Linked DNA regions of Homo sapiens: region 1 is linked to region 2. The links are contacts of gene promoters, found by promoter capture Hi-C in human tissues and cell types (Jung and others, 2019). All regions are on one chromosome and are shown on one strand. Each heading gives the region's core, a stretch centred on a gene start or on the middle of the fragment in contact. The rest is flanking DNA. Distances are from core to core; before and after follow the strand shown.

Region 1 (3,995 bases), core at 1,179-3,678, 220 kb after region 2:
CCTCTACGTGCTCCACTCAAATGGGTGAACTTTCATGAGTCACCGTAAATTACACTTCAGGGAAAAAAAGTGGGTGTCACTTGTCAGCAAACAGCTCTGAGCTTCCCTTATGACCCCTACCCTCTACTTTCACAGCACTTAGGAAGCGTTTCCATCCTACCTGGGTTCACCTGCACCCAGACCTGGCTCACTCACCTTTAGTGTTTCAAAATAACTTAAATCTGGCCACAGATGCTCTAAGGCAAAGTGGCCTACAGGAAGCTCAGTCGAGCAGGGCCCTCCCTGCCCCACTTATTATCCCACCAACTCCCTGCTGCTGAAAAGAGCATCGCACAGACTCCACCGCACTGGTTCAGACCTCATCTTCCAGCCAAGAATCTACCTTCCTTCATTAAGGAATTCATTGTTACAAATAGGCAACATCTCAATTGTCATGACCAAATCAAGACGGGATGGGGACTCATCTAAGGCTCTGTGTCCTGAAAAGTCAAGTCGGGTGGAGGGCAGGGGTAAAAAATCCTCAACACCCTGGAAGAACCTTCTCAACACCCTTGGCTTGTCTTCAATTTCTGGAATCTCGTGGCCATGCCAGCCCTGAAAGCCAATGGACTGTGCTCCGGACCCAGCCGCTTCTCCTTGTGAACACAAGCCTCCGTGTGCCTGAGAGTTCACCTATAAACATGGGCACTGCTCATTCACCAGTCACCACTGGCAAAGAGCTTGAAGACATTGACTACTTTGGGAAATCTTTAAAAAATAAATTTATTCATTTGGAAAAATTATCAAATGATTGCACAAGAAGAGGTGCCTTTCCTGAACAGGTCTGTGATCTGGGCCTCTGGGCACCTGGATAATTCCGCAGAGAAGGAGGTTGGTCCGGTCTGGTCAGTGTGTATTCCTTTTTGTTTTGAGACAGAGTCTCACTCTGCTGCCCAGGCTGGAGTGCAGTGGCGTGATCTCAGCTCACTGCAAGCTCTGCCTCCCGGGATCATGCCATTCTCCTGCCTCAGCCTCCAGAGTAGCTGGGAGTACAGGCACCCGCCACCATGCCTGGCTAATTTTTTTGTATTTTTAGTAGAGATGGGGTTTCACCGTGTTAGCTAGATGGTCTCGATCTCCTGACCTCGTGATCTGCTCGCCTCGGCCTCCCAAAGTGCTGGGATTACAGGCGTGAGCCACCACACCCAGCCGTCAGTGTGTATTCTTTTCTGCAGCTGCCAGGGGCAGGGGTTGTTGATGAGGGAGGGGTCAGAAATATTCCAAAACTTCAAATAAAGCAGCACCTGACTGTATACATTTTAAAACTTGTATTAAGACTCCGTGCAGAATTCCACTTAAAGACCGAAGTCTCTCAACCAAAAGTCTGAAAGCACCTAGGGACCCCGCGGGAATGCGATGCATGGGGAGGGCCTGCGGGGGCTACCTCCCCCATTAACAGCCCCTCATACCTTGCTCGTGGGGCTCATGTAAAGATGAAAACACACCCGAGTCCAAAGTTGTTTTTTTAAATGATCTGATTCTGAAAACACACAGCACAGAAATAGAAATGAGCAGCTGAGCAGAGGAGGAAAGAACACAGGGCTTCCTGTGGTCCGAATAGCCCGGGAGGTGCCTACACAGGGAGAGAGGGCCTGGGTGACCCCACAGTTACTGACCCCACTCCAACAAGCCCTCCCTAAGGTACTTGGGCTCCACGCACCACACAACAGGACCTGCCTCCTTTCCCTTGCGACCAGGACCTCAGCACAAAGGCCAGGGCAAGGCTGAAACATGACAGATTTAAAGCTAAACCTGAAAGTATAAGACTGACCCATAAAACATCTTCCCCGGTTCCCTGTCTTGCCCCTTCCTGTCCTTTAAACATGAAGGGCCTCCAGGCCTAAGGAAGCTTCTCTGCCTCTCAGACAGTTACAGGCTCTATGTTCTTATTGTTCTGATTTCTGTAAATCTCTCTGAATATATATTCATATGCCCATGTAGCAAAGAAGGCAGGTGGACCCTACAGCGTTGCAGGCCTGCAGCTAGCTTGGTTCAATGGCATTAATAAAGACACAGGTCAGCTACTATAGTTGGGTCAGTCTGCAGCAACAGACAAACCAGAGGGTCAGGAAGGACACTGAGAGCCCTGCCTGGCCTCCAGCAAGCCCTATTTTCCACCCGCACGAGGCAGCAGGTGCTGGTGGAGCGGCCTCTCTGAATGTGAAGGACAAGATCACTTGGTGAAGGAAAGACACCATCCCTCTCTCAGCAGGAGTCTGCCTTGCCTACACATCAAGGTCTGTCACTCATTAGTTGAGCCACCTCGCAATCTCTCTGGGCCTCAGTCTTTTCAACTGTGAAATGGACATGGTATCTACCATTGTGAGAAGTAGGATAGAGAATGGGCAGAAAGTGCCAGCAAGGAGCCCCGGCCGGGCACATGGCTCCTCCCGAATCTCTGTGATGAGCGAAAAGGCAGCCAAGTGCCACCTGTCTCCTCCCAGAAGACTTCTCTGCCTCCCCAACCACCCACCGCCTTTAAGAGCCTACACATCATGGTTCTGCTAGGGATTTAGTCTGCATATGTTCATGTGGGTCCTGAAAGGTATGAGCTTCACCACAGAAGAGGCCTTCCATGGCCTAGTGTCCTCTCAACCGCTCTGTTACGGACACAGCAGCCACTATGGTTCCCAAAGAATCAGATGCCCGGGAGGTGCCTCAGCACCAAGGAGGAGCAGATGGTTCCTCTCGCCTGCCTGGGAAAGCTCCGAGCTAGAGGAAACAAAGTCAGAGCTTGAAGCAGCAGTTCTCAAATGGAGTGGTTAGAAATCACATGGACTCTGGGAGGCCGAGGCGGGCGGATCACGAGGTCAGGAGATCGAGACCATCCTGGCTAACACGATGAAACCGTTTCTACTAAAAATGCAAAAAATTAGCCGGGCATGGTGGCGCGGGCCTGTAGTTCCAGCTACTCGGGAGGCTGAAGCAGGAGAATCACTTGAACCCGGGAGACGGAGGTTGCAGTGAGCCAAGATCACGCCACTGCACTCCAGCCTGGCGACAGAGTGAGACTCCATCTCAAAAACAAACAAACAAACAAAAACAAAAACAACAACAAAAAAACACACAAAGTGGTTATTTAAACTGGTTTCCCAGCCTCGCCCTGCAGATTCTGATGCAGGGCAACATCTGCAAAAAAATGGCTTAGGGAGCAATGGGAACTGGGCGGTCAGCTGCAGAAAAGGGAGAGAAACCTCAAATGATAGATCCTAAAGACAGCAGGGCTCAGCGGTAATGCCCCTCCTCCTAGGCTCTCACAGGCCTAGGCAACGTTGGGCTGCTCATGGCTTTAATACCACCAAAAATTGCAGAAATTTGTCAAGAGTGAGGTGAGCAGAGGTCCCAAGAACAAGGCAACCTCCTGGACACTCTCCTATAGGAAGCAAACTCAAAATAAACCAGAATCCTAACCTGTCTGCACCTGGAGTGCTCTGAAGATCCTTTGGACCAAGCCTGTTTACTTTATACACAAGTACACAGGCACCCCAAATTAATTTCTCAGGCTGGAACTTCACATCTTACGGGACTGACAAACTCCCAGGTTGCCCCTGAAAAAGGCACATATCCAAGAGCTAGAAGTGTTTTCTCTACTATGTCCGAGGATGTGAGCTGAGATTATGAGTCCTTAGCACAGCCCCTACACAGTCAGGCAGCTCTCATCTCTCGTGATGCTCAAGGACTCTCCAGGCTAGGATGGAGCAGAGCTCCACACCATGGAGGCCGGCCCTCAGCACCATGCCTGCCACAGAAGGTGGCCTCAGTCTCTCCATGGCTTCCATGTGTGAGAGGCTTGGGGTCAGCAGACATGGTCCAAGATCATCAGACCTACCACAATCAGGAGGGAGGAAATTCTGACACCAACCAGGATGATCTTTCAGGACCTTATGCTGAGTGAAATACACCAGTCACAAAGGACAAACACTGCATGATCCCATTTATGTGAGGTGCTGGAGGAG
Region 2 (4,177 bases), core at 393-2,892:
TTAAAGTTTATCATTAGGCATCCGCTGTAGAAGAGCTCAGCACACTGGGCTCTGTGAAAGTCACCTTCTGAAGTGCCTGGTGTTGATGGAGACAAACGGTACTTGGTTTCCTTTTTTAACACCTGTCCCTCAACAAACCACATTACTGATGAGGCATCTTTCTGATGTCAGAAGAAATGTCACTTGTTAGAGACAGTAGTACAGAGAACAGGACTGTGGAGTGGGGAGCACTAACTGTGCTTGGGAGGCAGACAGACTTGGGTTTGAGTCCTGACTGAGCCCCTGAGCAGCATGTGACTTGGGGCAAGTTTCCTCATCTGGAAAACAGAGATAATAATATCTACCCAACAAAAGAGAGGATGCAGTGAACTTGTGGCTAAAAAACGGGCTCTTGTAACTTCCTTCTCCTCTTTATCAAACCCTCCAGCAGCAACCCTAGGTGGCCAATCAAGGGATGCCAAAAAACACTCAGCCTCTTTAATTTTGTGCATACCAAAATCCCCTGTTCCTTTTGCAAAATACTTCAAATTTACCAACCAAGATCTGTGTGTAAACGTCCCTCCTTGGATCTTTCCCCTCTATCCATCCTGGACAGAACACCTCGGGAGTCGGATGGTAGGGGTTGAGCTCAGGTGTTCAGCAAGGCCAGCTCTGCAAGGGGATAAGACATGAGGTGGATCCCACCTCACCTGGACCACTGACTCACTGTGTGACCCCCAGAAAGTCACACAACCTCTCTGGGCCTCAAATACCCCTGGAAGCTATGCTTTCATGGACAACAGTAAAAAAGATGGGTAAAGACACCCATCAAAGTCCTGGGGACAAAGAAGTGGGAATGTGACTGCGGTCGGGGTGAAAGAGGACAACTTATAACGTTTATTTTTCTAAAAATTTAACAAACGACTTGAGGCCAAATATGCCACAAATTTTGAAGTCAGCTTTAAATGCAGAGTTAGGTATATTAACACTTTGTACTCTCCCGCATTTTCAGAAACCTTGGATGGCAGCCAACAGATCCTGAGCGCGGGGCCGCATCTTCCCGGTGCGCTGTGGCCCCTAGTCCCCCCCAGACCCTATTCTATCAGAGGGCCACCCCGAGGCTGGGGCGCTGACCGTCCAAGGTCACCGGCGCAGGGGCGGTGTCTGGGGCTCGGGGCGAGAAGGAGGCCCGGCGCGGGGCGGGGCGGGGACGCTCACGCTCAGCCCTGGCCGCAGGCGGCCGTACTGCTCCGACACCCAGAAGCCGCGCCGGTCCTCCAGCGCGATGAAGGGCTGGTCGGGAAAGCGCGCGCGGAACTTCCTGAGGAATCCGCCCTCGAAGTCAGCCAGCACGCCGTCCATGTCCACCAGCACCCGTAGGGCGCGGCCTCCCGCCAGGCCCAGCCCGCCCGCCGCCCCGCGCCGCCCCGCGGGAACCGCCGCGCTGCAGAGCCGCCGCGCACACCAGCCGCCCAGCCGGATCATGGCCCAGCGCGCTGGCCCGTCGTGGGCGCGGGGACCTGGGCCGCGCCGTGCTGCCGGAGCCGGCCAGACATTCCCGCCGCGGAGGAGAAGCCCCCAACGCTGGGGCGCGCGTGGAGCGCGGGACGGGGAGCGGGGCGGGGAGCGCGGGGTGCGGGCGCGCAAGTACCGGCCCCAGAGCGAGGCCGCGGCGCGCGCGGTCCCTAAAGGAACACGCGCCGGCGGAGGCGGAGCCCCGGGGCGGGGCTTCGAGGACGGACAGCGGTAAGCGCCGCGCGCCTCCAGAAGGTCCGCGCTCCCGCGCTGTCGATTTGCGTCTTCTCCGTGGACCCTGGGCCCGGGCTGCCTTCTCCCACTGCACAGACTACCATGGAGGAGCAGTGCAAACCGAGAAGCAGGCCTGTGTCGTTAGACATTTTTGAGCACTAACTGTGTCGAGTGTGAACCAAATAGACAAAGTTCCTGCCATCCTGGAACTTACGTTTTAGAAGGGGATCCAGACAACAGGATGGAGGAACAAAAACAGGGTGCACTCTGAAAGCCTCTCTGCTTTATTTACAGCAAATGTCTGCGGAGAGACTGATAGAACCAATATCTGCTAACATCATACAGCCTTAGTAAAACTGATGATTCTCAGGTAAATATATGAATAAATATTAAGTACCCCTGTATTGCTTTTTTTTTTTTTTTTTTTTGGAGACGGGGTCTTGCTCTGTTACCCAGGGTGGAAGCAGTGGCATGATCTCGGTTCCCTGCAGCCTTGAGTTTCTGGGCCCAAGGGATCGTCCTGCTTCTGCCTCCTGAGTAGCTGGGACCACAGGGGCCTGCCACCACACCCTGGTAATTTTTTTTTTTTTTTTTTTTTTTTTGAGACAGGAGTCTTCCTATGTTGGGCTCAAACGATCCTCCCACCTCAGCCTCCCAAAGTGCTGGGATTACAGGCGTGAGCCACCGCGCCCGGCCTCTTTTCAACTTTTAAGTACAGGGATACATGTGCAGATTTGTTATATAAATTGACTGTCTTGGGGGTTTAGTGTACAGATTATTATTACCCAGGTAATAAGCGTAGTTCCTGATAGGTAGTTTTTCCATCCTCACCCTCCTCCCACTCTCCACCCTCAAGTAGGTCACCGTGTCTGTTGTCCCCATCATTACGTCCATGTTTACTTAATGTTTAGTTCCCGCTTTTAAGTGAGAGCATGAGGTATTTAATTTTCTGTTCCTGTGTTTGCTTAGGATAATTGTCTCCAGCTCCATCCATATGGCTGCAAAAGACATGATCTTATTCTTTTTTTATGACTGTGAAGTATTCTATGGTATATATGTACCACATTCTCTCCCTTTTTTTTTTTTTTTTCTTGATAGGGAGTCTTGCTCTTGTTGCCCAGGCTGGAGTGCAGTGGCAGGATCTCGGCTCACTGCAACCTCCACCTCCCAGGTTCAAGCGATTCCCCTGCCTCAGCCTCCCAAGTGGCTGGGATTACAGGCGCCCACCACCACACCCAGCTTTTTTGCATTTTTAGTAGAGACAGGGTTTCACTATGTTAGCCAGGCTGATCTCCAACTCCTGACCTTGTGATCTGCCCGCCTCGGCCTCCCAAAGTGCCGGGGTTACAGGTGTGAGCCACCGCACCCGGCCGATTTTTGTATTTTTAGTAGAGACAGGGTTTCACCATGTTGGCCAGGCTGGCCTCAAACTCCTGACCTCAGGTGATCCGCCCCACCCCCCTCGGCCTCCCAAAGTGCTGGGATTAAAGGCGTGAGCCACTGCACCCAGCCTGTGTTACAGCTCTTTTAGCCCCACCATTTGGCAGGTCCCGAGTTCTTGTCCTGCATCCAGGAAGAATGGGGTAGGCAGACAAGTGGAGAGTGAGCAAGACGAAGAGGAGCTTTATTGAGCAACAGAATACTTCAGAAGAGACCTGCAGTGGGCAGCTCCTCTCCATAGCCAGGGTTTCCCCACAAGTGTTCAGCTTTCAGCAGAGAGGGTAGCTCCTCTCTGGTAGGCAGTTCATCCCAACAAGTGTCCAGCTCTCAGCAGAAAGGGTAGTTCCTCTCTGCAGCTGGTTTTCTCCCCATCTACCCGTCCTCTCTTTGAGTCTGGCTGAGTCCAGGGTTTTTTATGGACCTCAGAGGGGAAGAAGTGAGTGCTGATTGGTCCATGGGCGGCCATAGGTGGCCATGAGCAGGCCTGGGGAAAAGCACCACAAGTTCCCCGCTCTGGTACTGGGACTGGTGACCTGGCCCCCAGGCTTCAGGCCCTTCCAGGATTGAAGGTGGGGCTTCACCAGGGACCCGCCCCCTTCCACCGAGGAGCTGTCTGCATTCCTGCTGCTGTTCATGGCGCCCAGGCTGTTCATGCCAAGGGGTACCTGCAGGCCAACACCAGGCTGTCCTCATGCCCCCCTCGGCCGTTCTCCGATGCTTGTTGGCACCCAAGTCCGGAGGGGGCCAAGGAGGCAGGGGGCTGGCGTGTCAGTGCTGCCCTGAGCGTGTGCACTCCCGGCTGGGCTGTGACGGCGCCCTAGCTCGGCCCGACTTTGCTCCGAGATTGAAGCAGGCACCAACAGCAGGGAGAAGCCAGGCAGCAGGAGCAGGCACTTCCGAGCCTGCGAGGGGCAGTGGAGCCTTCACAGGTTCCCAAGAGCACAGAGATGCTGGGCCAGAGCCGCAGCAGGGCAACTGCAGCGGCATCTGGGGAACTCCCGCCCCGCCA

Evidence for each region. Contacts are between HindIII fragments. The study calls those that stand out against the background at their distance.
Region 1: a contact is called between a fragment that was not itself captured here and the fragment with the promoter of NT5M in region 2, in 2 of the 25 tissues and cell types used here (liver and stomach).

The regions. Positions count from the first base shown.
Region 1 is chr17:17,082,827-17,086,821 of GRCh38, reverse strand. The region is part of intron 3 of MPRIP (myosin phosphatase Rho interacting protein); the gene reads right to left. Among named protein-coding and RNA genes, the nearest start is that of MPRIP, 42 kb to the right of the region's middle. The HindIII fragment of the contact is 3,365 bases long and covers 746-3,995 here.
Region 2 is chr17:17,300,838-17,305,014 of GRCh38, reverse strand. NT5M (5',3'-nucleotidase, mitochondrial) reads right to left here and starts at 1,642. Exons shown (of 5, transcript NM_020201.4): 1 at 1,198-1,642. The coding sequence starts at 1,464. RefSeq lists silencers at 1,073-1,262, 1,393-1,492, 1,543-1,712 and an enhancer at 3,686-4,177. The HindIII fragment of the contact is 23,347 bases long and covers 1-4,177 here.